Linked DNA regions of Homo sapiens: region 1 is linked to region 2. The links are contacts of gene promoters, found by promoter capture Hi-C in human tissues and cell types (Jung and others, 2019). All regions are on one chromosome and are shown on one strand. The core of a region is centred on a gene start or on the middle of the fragment in contact, and the rest is flanking DNA. Distances in the headings are between cores, read along the strand shown.

The links. Contacts are between HindIII fragments. The study calls those that stand out against the background at their distance.
Region 1: a fragment that was not itself captured here is called in contact with the fragment with the promoter of UTP20 in region 2 in 2 of the 25 tissues and cell types used here (hippocampus and mesenchymal stem cells).

Annotation. Positions count from the first base shown.
Region 1 is chr12:101,021,950-101,026,967 of GRCh38, reverse strand. All of the region lies in intron 9 of ANO4 (anoctamin 4), which reads right to left. Among named protein-coding and RNA genes, the nearest start is that of SLC5A8, 190 kb to the left of the region's middle. The HindIII fragment of the contact is 6,963 bases long and covers 1-5,018 here.
Region 2 is chr12:101,277,174-101,282,814 of GRCh38, reverse strand. It overlaps UTP20 (UTP20 small subunit processome component), which reads right to left and starts at 2,710. Exons shown (of 62, transcript NM_014503.3): 1 at 2,488-2,710; 2 at 1,619-1,699. The coding sequence starts at 2,532. RefSeq lists enhancers at 2,637-2,686, 2,420-3,011. The HindIII fragment of the contact is 9,089 bases long and covers 1-4,196 here.

The sequences.
Region 1 (5,018 bases), core at 1,224-3,723, 260 kb after region 2:
CTGTTTCTAGTCAGCCATCTTGGCCCCACCCTTCTTTTCATTCTCTTGAAAACATCATTTGAAAAGGGAAGTTTTAATTTTGAAGTCTAGGTTATCCATTTTTTTCTTCTTTTATGAATTATGCTTTTATTTAAGAAACCCTTGGTTAACCCAAGGTAACAAAGATTTTCTATTTTCTCCTAGAATTTTTATGGTTTTAAATTTTACACTTTGAACTATAATCCATTTGAGTTAACTTTTGTATACGAGTTTTCCTAAATTCATTTTTTTGCATATGGGTTTGAATTCAGTATCATATGTTGAAAAGTCAATTCTTTACCCACTGAATTGACTTCGACCCTTTGTCTCAAGTCAAAGACTTGACTTTTTGTTCTTTTTCAGAGTTGTTTTGGCTATTCTAGGTCCTTTCATTTCCCTATGAATTTTTGAATTCATTTGTCAATTTTCACATATACACACACAAAACACCTTCTGGGAATTTGACTGGATTGTGCTGAATCTATAGATCAATTTGTTAAGACTGACCTCTTAACAATATTGAGTCTTCTGACTCATAAACATAGTATATGTCTCCATTTATTGGGTCTTCTTAAATTTATCTCAGCAATGTTTTGTAGTTTTCAGTGTACAATTCTTAAGTATCTTTTGTTTGATTTATCCTTAAGTATTTAATATTTCATATTTGGGGGCTAATTATAAGTGATTTGGTTTTTAAAATCTCAGTTTCTCACTGTTTGTTGCAGATTGAGAGAAATACAATTGAGTTTTTATATCAATCTCATTTTTTGCAACCTAGCTACATTCACCTATTAGTCCCTTTTAATGGATTCCATTGTGAGTTTCTTTATAGGTGATCATGTCATCTGATAATTAGGACAGTTTTAATTCTTTTTATTTTATTGCACTGGATAGTAAAATGAATACAAGTGGCAAGTGCAGACATACTTGTCCCGTTCATTATCTTGGGAGGAAAATATTCAGTCTTTTATCATTAAGCATAATTTTAACTATAAGCATTTCATAGATGTATTTTATGAGGTTGAGGAAGATAATTTCTATTAGTAGTTTGCTGAGTTTTTATCTGTAATGGATGTTGAACTTTGTGAAATGCTTTTCCCATGTTCATAAATATGAACATATGGTTTTTCTTTTTTAGTTTGCTACTATGGTGAATTATATTGATTGATTTTCATATACTAAGCCAACCTTGCAGTCCAGGATAAATTCTACTTGGTCATGATGTATTACCCTTGTTATACATTGTTAAACTTTATTTGCTAAATTTTCTTTATGTTTGCAGGAGGAAAGACTTTTCTGAGTATTCTCCTCACTGCTCTGTGAATTATGAGGTGTTCCAGTCTTACTGGAAATTCTTTTGGATGGTTCTTTCTCTGGCCTTGGGTATTCTCCGGACATGTATGCACTGATCAGCACTTGCTGAATACTTGAGGGAGACCCTCTACAGATCTTCAAGGTTCTAGCCCTGTGCAGTTCTCTGCTTTCTGGTACTTCCTTCTGTGAACTCTCGCTGCCTTCCGGTACTTCTTTCTGTGAACTCTCGCTGCCTTTGTTTCCCAACTCCTAGCAACAACTTCTCAACTTAGAGAGTCTTTCAGGTCCTGCCTACATTCTCACTTTTCATGGTGCTGTCTAGAAACTATGTCAAGGTGGTAAGATAGGGCCCAGCAGGGCTCATTTCATTTGTTTTCTGTCTCTCAGAGATCCTTGTTTTGGGTTGCCCAATATTCAGTGTCTTGAAAATAGTTGTTTCATACATTTTGTCTGTTTTTTCTTTTGTGATTGTTTCAGGTGGGAGAGTAAATCTTGTGCCTGTTGCTCCATCTTGGCCAGAAGTGGAAGTTTAACATGTTGATCTTTAAAGCTCCTTTCAGATCAAGATTTCTGCTACTTCCTAAAATACACCTCAAAGGAGATTATCATAATTTCTCAAGTGGCTTGAGAGGAATGCTACCTATGCTTTAGATCCTTACCAGAATCTAGAGGTTTAGCCTAACTGGAAAATGGCACATGCACTGATTCACTTTTCATTGATGGAGGATCAATCAATATTTAGATGCTTTTAATCATAGTAACACATTAATATGTTTTAAGATGCTTCACATTAATACTAAATATCTAAGAAAAACATTTGAAATCCAAATATCACAAGGCTTTATAGTTTGTCTAGCGCACCAGAGGCCCTCAATAAATACCTTTGTAATGAATTACTATGTAGAAAGCTTTGATTCCCTGGAGTCTCTATTGGGAATTCTACATATCTCATCAATAACTTTCAAACATCCCAGATGTTAGAAAAAATAGGATTCATAAGGACCTAATAAGAGACTCACATGATAACTTTTTTTTTTTTTGAGACAGAGTCTCACTCTGTTGCCCAGGCTGGAATGCAGTGGTGCGATCTCGGCTCACTGCAACCTCTGCCTCCCGGGTTCAAGCAATTCTCGTGCCTCAGCTTCCCAAGTAGCTGGGATTACAGGTGAGTGCCACCATGCTCAGCTAATTTTTGTATTTTTAGTAGAGATGGAGTTTTACCACGTTGGTCAGGCTGATCTCGAACTCCTGACCTCAACTGATCCACCTGCCTTGGCCTCCCAAAGTGCTGGGATTATAGGCATGAGCCACCGTGCCTGGCCTCAGATGATAACTTTTATAAGTTTATCATAATTTATCAAAGTCCTGCAAAGTGAGAAAGTAGCCAATATTTGAAATCTTTTTCACTTTACTAATTTCTCCTCTAAGCACCAAATTCAAAAATACAAATCAATTTCAAGATTTATTGTATGCACCCACATTGTTAAATAAATCTTTGTTGAGCTATTAAATGGCTCTATTTTGAAAGTGGGTTTCACCAGGTTTGATTTTTACAGTTGAAATAAATTCAGAGTGAAGTTGAAAAATGTACATAGTGGCAGTTTACATTCCACTAAAATATCCTTATGAATCATGTCTACAAATCAGTATTTTCATGTTATTTCTAATCGATGTTGGCTCATGCAAGATGCCACTTTCAGAAAGAGTTTCAGGCAGAAAATAATACTGGATAAACATTAGTTCTATCAAGAAATTAAAATTTCTTCTAACATATTATTTCTTTTATTTACAAAACCAAAGATGATAATGAAATATTGAATCTACAGGCCATTAGTAGTTTTGCTCCATGTTTTTCAGCATAATGCTTGGTTGTGGCTTAATAATTTACTATCTGATTGGTTATTTCTAATTAGATATGATTCCAGTTCATCATTACCAATTTTCTTTTATTATTTTCTTTTTCTTTGTTGTGACAGACTCCTGTTCTGTTGCCCAGGCTGGAGAGCAGTGGCACAATCTCAGCTCACTGCCGCCTTGACCTCCCAGAAGTAATCCTCCCATCTCAGCCTCCTGATGGCTGGGACTATAGGTACTGACCACCACGCCTGGGTAACTTTTTGTATTTTTTGTAGAGATGGGGTTTCACCATTATGCTCAGGCTGGTTTCAGACTCTTGGGCTCAAGCAATCCTCCTGCCTCAGCCTCCCAAAGTTCTGGGATTCCAGGCATGAGCCAATGTGCCTGGCCTATTACCAATTTTCAACACATGGAGGTCTTTGAATAGAAAACTCCTTATTTCATCAAATGAAAGAAACTTTTATAAAGACCCTTTCTGACTAGCAACAATACTACACTTCCTGTGCTTCTTCAGAACATTTAAAAATCACTGTCTCTGTCCTTCTTTTGCTTATAAAAGCATCCCACATTTTGAGACGCAAAATTAGGCACAATAATTTAAAAGCTTTTCAGTTCAGCACGCCTTTATTGAACTCCTACTATATGCCAGGCACTGTGCTAGGCAGTGATGATATAAAGATAAATAAGGCAGTTTATTTACAGTTAAGGATCTTATTATCCAGATGAGCAGCATTCAGCTGCAGATTCTTAATACACTAGTGTCTCATAAAGAGTCGTTTTGAGAGGCCGAGGCAGGCGGATCACAAGATCAGGAGTTTGAGATCAGCCTGGCCAACATAGTGAAACCCCGTCTCCACTAAAAATACAAAAAATTAGCCGGGCATGGTGGCGGGCACCTGTAATCCCAGTTACTCAGGAGGCTGAGGCAGGAGAATCACTTGAACCTGGGAGGCAGAGATTGCAGTGAGCTGAGATCTTGCCATTGCACTCCAGCCTGGGTGACAGTCCGAGACTCCGTCTCAACAAAAAAAAAAGAGTCATAAGTTGTACTGCAAATGATAATACCATTATTAGTGAAGATGCCATTTGGAGTTATTTGCATTTTATGAAGTGATTCAGAACAGCTACTGCAATAATAACTTCACTTTCACTCACTTGCTTTCTAGTATGTTTATGGTACAATGTTAACTGAAAAAAGTTCGTAAAAAGGATGCATAGCACATCCTAAGTTTGTTTCTAAAAACCATATGAATGAATAAGAAATTAAGATATAAAAGTAACTAAGGTAACATTTAAATTATTCAGTACGCAAATGTTATGAGTGGTTCTCTTTATGTGGTAGATTTTCATAATGTTATTGAATGTAGTTCAAGACAACAAAAGAAGAGTTGTATATGACTAACTATCAAATAGACTCCAAAAATAGTTGCCATAGGAATTCAGAAGAGAGAAGAATTCATTCAAGCTGGAATGGTCACAGAGGACTTTATTGAAGGAATGTGTTTCAAGGAAGGATGACTAATGCAGAGAAATGGGAATGTGTTTAACTAAAATCCATCAAAGTTAAGAAAGACCTAAATCAGGTTTGACTTCACCATACCCCCATACATTGACTCTCACAAAACATAATATTCCAGTTGTAATCAGATCTGGACTAGAAAGCTATCTATTTCTCCATGTTATATTTTAATTTATGCAGCTTGGGATCAAAGTAGGTGTTTTTTTTTTTTTTTTTTTGGCAGAGTCATTATGCTAGTGACTCACACCAAGCTTGCATTCAGCTCAACTCTCAAATCTGTTCCTCTTATGATGTTGAGCAACATTTCTCC
Region 2 (5,641 bases), core at 1,461-3,960:
TACTTAGATAACAGTCAAATCCTCACAACTGGACAACTGAGATTGGATCTCCAAGTTAAAGGCATGTTACACAGGACCTTAAAAGGCTAGCAGAGGAATCATGACATGATGAAGAACTGCAGTCCTGCTCTTTTCTCCACACTAAAGCCAGAGAGATTGAAAATTTAAACCTGATCATGTCATTCATTCCCCTGCTTACAGTCCTAGAACTCTAAGTCCCTACAGCTTCAGGATAAAACCCCAACTTAGCTTCACATATGAAGTCCTTTATGATCCTTGCCTATTTCTCCAGCTTTATCTCACCAGTTGCCCCCTTGCCCCATCCCAGTCACCATGAATACAAAAAAAAAACACCCTATACACACCTATAACCACACTGGACTGCTTTGCAGTTTCTTGAATGTGACATGCATTCTCTAGCTTCTGTTCCTTTATATAGGCTTCTCCCTCAGCCTGGAACAGGCTTTCCTGTCCTCTTTACCATGCTAAAACCTATATAAACAAAATTCAGGTGTCACCTCGTCTAGATCACCGTTTTTTTGACACCCCTAAAGAATGTAGGTTAGGTTCCCTTTACTATGAGTTCTCAAAGCACAATGTGCTCACCTAGACGACATCATTTAACACATTGAATTTACACAGTGGAGATAATGCATTCAAAGACCCAGCGAGTGGAGTCTGATTATAGTAAAGAAGAATATTACGAACTGAGATTGGATCGCCAAGGTATAGGCATGTTACGTACGACCTTAAAATGCTAGGAGGAATAACGACATGATGCAGAAAAAGACTTCTGCATAAAAGGATGACAAGGCCGGGCGTGGTGGCTCACACCTGTAATCCCAGCACTTTCGGAGGCCAAGGCGAGCAGATCACGAGGTCAGGAGATTGAGACCATCCTGGCCAACATGTCAAAACCCCGTCTCTACTAAAAATGCAAAAATTAGCTGGGTGTGGTGGCACGTACCTGTAATCCCAGCTACTCGGGAGGCTGAGGCAGGAGAATCGCTTAAACCTGGGAGGTGGAGATTGCAGTGAGCCAAGATCACGCCACTGCACTCCAACCTGGAGACGGAGCGAGACTCCATCTCAAAAAAATGAATAAATAAATAAAAGTAAAATAAAGGGATGACAGAGTCAGAGTATGGTTAAAACTGGAAAATATTATGTAGTCTAGCCCCTTTATTTTTATAAAGGAGAAAATTAAGCCCCGGGAAAAGGGCTTCCTCAAAATCACTTTAAAGTTATAGCTTCAGGAATATGGATCTGCAGCAGTGCTTGGAATGCATAAGGGAAAGGGAGAGGCTAGAATCACAAAGACAGCTGAAAGTCAAGTCAATTGTCTAATAGAGCTTCACCCAACAGAACTTTCTGCAAAGATGAAAATGTTCCAATTCTATATTTATTCAATATGTTAGCAACTAGCCACATTTGGGCACCCAAATTTTTAATTTACTTTAAATCCAATTTGTCATATGTGGCTACTGTATGAAACAGCACAGGTCTAAAGCATTTCATGTCCAAAAAGGAATACCTTGAAAAACAATTCACTTCTACTAACAGAAGAAACTAAAACACCATGAACACTTGAAGATTGACTAGTATCACATTCTCTTACCTCCTCATAGCTTGCAGTTCTATCAATCCGGTGAATAATATCAATATTAACATTCCCCAGTCGTTCAGCAAATGTAAGAAACTGGAAGGGAAAGTATATTTAAGATACATAATTAATTAAAATTTATCAGATCTTTAATATCTATTTGAATGCTGCATGTAGGCATCTCTAATCACAAAGGATAAGTGGAAAAATAAACTGAAAAACATACGGCCGTAAACAAATTTACTGCATCACTGTTCAAAGATAATGAATACTTCTATGTTTGCATAATTTCTCTCAGCTATGTCATTTCAAATAAAATTTCCATTGCCAGACTGGTGAGCCTAGGTGGATGCTGGCAATTAGTCTCGCTAGATCTATTAGGTTTCATACCCTCCCATAAGCATGGGGACCTAGCAAAGTCGCTGCAATAAAAGTGTTTTTAAACATATACAGACCTATGATTGTATCCTAAGGAAGACCTGGAAACAATCTATCAAGGGGCAAACAGAGAAAGCGCTGTATATTTGCCCTTAGCTGGGAATCACTCACCGCCAGCCGACTCGCCCAATTCGGTCTTTAAAGATAAAAGAGCAGGGGAGAATTGGTCCTAAGCAATCTCCTGGAATAGTGAATTTAATTCTGGACTACAGGAAATTCCCAGGACTGGCCAGACCCCATAAAACATGGGTGAAACTTGCTGTCCACACTTCTTTCCTCCTCCAACCCATGTTTACTACATCCAGTGTCTCCCTCTTTCGCCGGAGCCTCCAGGAAAGTGACACACTCGGCCCAGAAGTCTGAGGCCCCTGGAGTCTCGCTCAGAGCCTGTCTCACGACTGAGGCAGCGGAGACCCGCGGCTCCCTGCCTAAGCTCCCGCGCTCACCCGGTAGGTGTTCTCGGTCTTGTGGGAAACGGGCTTTGTCTTCATGGCTGCAGAGGGCCAGTGGCCCGCGACGGCCTCGGGAGTGTCGAAGGGATGCAACCGACAGTAAGGAGGGGAAAGCGGCTCACAGGCTATACTCTCCGATTCCCAGATGCCCAGACTTTCTCACGTGCGGCTTGAGCCCCTGGGCGCCGCCATGTTGGAGACAAGGAGGAGCCTGAGTGGGTCACGTGGACGGAAAAAAGAACGGCGCAGGCGCACCCTTTGGTGGGGTGGGGCCTACAGGAGGCGGGGCTGCGCACATAAGGGCGGGCGTTTGGGTGAGGTGTTCTTTTCACTCCCTTCGGTAAAGGTTTAGAAGACAAATGTATTTTCATTATAAAATAAAACATACCTGTAATCGTTATCAACTAACATTACTGTCCCTCACTACGTACCTGCATCGTGCAAAGATCCTTTCATCCATAATTTCACAGTAAAGCTTATTAGGGATGTTAATACAAAGGAGGTACTGCGTCTATCTATATATCTATATATAGATATATACTTTTTTTTTTTTTTTTTTGAGACGGAGTCTCACTCTGTCTCCCAGGCTGGAGGGCAGTGGCGCGATCTCGGCTCACTACAATCTCCGCCTCCCGGGTTCAAGCAGTTCTCCTGCCTCAGCGTCCAAAGTAGCTGGGACTACAGGCACCCGCCGCCACGCCCGGCTAATTCTTTTGTATTTTAGTAGAGACGGGGTTTCACCTTGTTGCCCAGGCTGGTCGCGAACTCCTGAGCTCAGGCAATCCGCCCGCCTCGGTTTTCCAAAGTGCTGGGATTACAGGTGTGAGCCACCGCGCCTGGCCGGTACTGTGTATATTTTTAAGCCAATTTGACACAAGAGGAAACCAAGGTTGTGCAGCTGGTAACTGGCAGTCTTCACTCAGACTCTAAATTTTGGTATTCTTAACCACTACGCTGTAAATAAAATTGAAAAATAGAGAAGGAGTTTTAAGAAAAATCTTTTAATTTCATGCACAACCGCTGTTAATGTTTGGTGTTTTTCCCATCACTTTAATGTCTACACATAGCATGTTGTTAAATTGTACAGTTATATATACATATATGTACAATTTTAAAAAATAATTTAAAAATATAATTATTTACCCCATTTTACATTCATTCATTCATTCAGCAACTATTTCTTGAGAGTCCTCTGTGGACCAGGTACTGTTCTGGGAGCCAAACGAGAAAGGCAATAATAGTATTAATTAATTATTTGAAAATATTCACAGCCTTCAATTCCTGGGCTAAAGTGAGCCTCCCACCTCAGCCTCCCAAGTAGCTAGGGCTACAGGCATGCACCACCACACCCAGCTCTTTTATTATTATTATTATTATTATTATTATTATTATTATTATTTGTAGAGATGGGATCTTGCTATATTGCCCAGGCTGGTATCAAACTTCTGGACTCAAGCAGTCCTCTTGGCTTGGCCTCCCAAAGTGCTGGGATTACAGGGGTGAGCCACCATGCCCAGACTGGAAATACTTGGTCTGAGATGCTTACATTTTAGTCAAGGAGTGATGTTAAGTAGACAATTGGATATATTGTTGTACAGAGCTCACTGTAGCAGTCTGGGCTGCAGACGTGACTTAAATACACCTAAATACCTCAAGTGTGAGGCATTTGCGACTGGGAAAGAGAGCCAGTAAGGTAGAAACAGACTAGTTATGGCATGGAAGCAGAGCTGGTGGCCAACTATACTGCAAATTCGAGGATAGAGAAGTGGTTGCTGGATCTGACAAGGTGAAGGTCACTGGTGACCTTGCTAAGTACAGTCTAGTTGGAAGAAAGGAAGTGAAATATGCATGGATTGAGGAGGTAATCAGAGTTGAGAAAGTGAACATAACACTTTCAAATTGTTATTGGCATTATCACATCAACATTTTCTGTGTCACCACAGGGTTGTTCTAAATATTTTAATGCCTCCATAGCATTTATAGATTTTTTTATAATAAAATATTGACGTGCCTAATGTTCCATTGGCTTTCAGTAGGCTAATAATTGGTCTTTTTTTTTTAAAAGCCTTTTATGGGTCACAGGGAAATCTAAGAAAGCTGTAGAACTTCTCCCAGAAAGATGCAAAGAAGCTCATCCACACTAAAATGTGCACGTTTCAGAGAGTTAGAAGCCTGCAGTTAACTGAGGGTAGAAGCCCCCACTCAAAGCAATATTTTCCCAACCTGTTGCCAAAATCACCCCCACATCATTGTGCCATTTTCCTTCTCTGCAATTTATTTTTGGTAATGGAGTTAACTGGACAATAAGGAGTGAAGAGAAAAATCAAAGAAACTGAAAGAACTGACACAAGTTATATTGACCATTTATTGTTTGCATTGTTCTTCATTACATGACCCTCACACACTGACTTGACTCTGACTGGCTTAACAATATGTCAATAGAACATGGTGGTTGAGAGCATAGATGCTGGAACCAGGTTGTCTGGAGGTAATCCTGGTTCTGCCATTTATTAGTAGGGTCAGTTACCCTTTCAGAATGACATTTCCGTATATGTAAATGAAGCTAACAAAAGTAGCTACCTCACGGGTGGTGATTATGCAGAGTAAATAAGCTAATGGATAAAAGATGCTTAGAATGTGCCAGACACCATAATTGCGCAAGCTCAGAAATTACTTAACCTTTCTGAGACCCAATTTCCTCATCTATAAAATAGAGATGACAATAATACCAGTCTTTCAAGATACTGTGTTGGTGCATAGAGCATGAAATAAATGTTTGCTAAGTGGATAAATAAATGACCATTTATTCTCTACTACCTGGCTACCTGACAAGTTCCTTAAGGGCTGACACCTTATACTTTTTCAACTTTGTGTCATCAGTTCCCTTGAACATAAGAGTTGTTTAATGAATGTCTGTTGAATTAACAAAGCTTATAATACTTACATTGACCCGGACAAATTTAAGAGTAATATAGTTCCAGCATTGGATGTGAATTGCACCACATGATTTTTGGTATCTCTCAAAACTAAGTTTCTAAGCTTTAATGGAATACCGAAAGCATCCGTGAAGAGCACGAGTGTTTCTTATAAACATTTCCTTGCTTCCAGCGTTTGTCCTCTGTCAAGGTATAGGATGAATATCCTATAC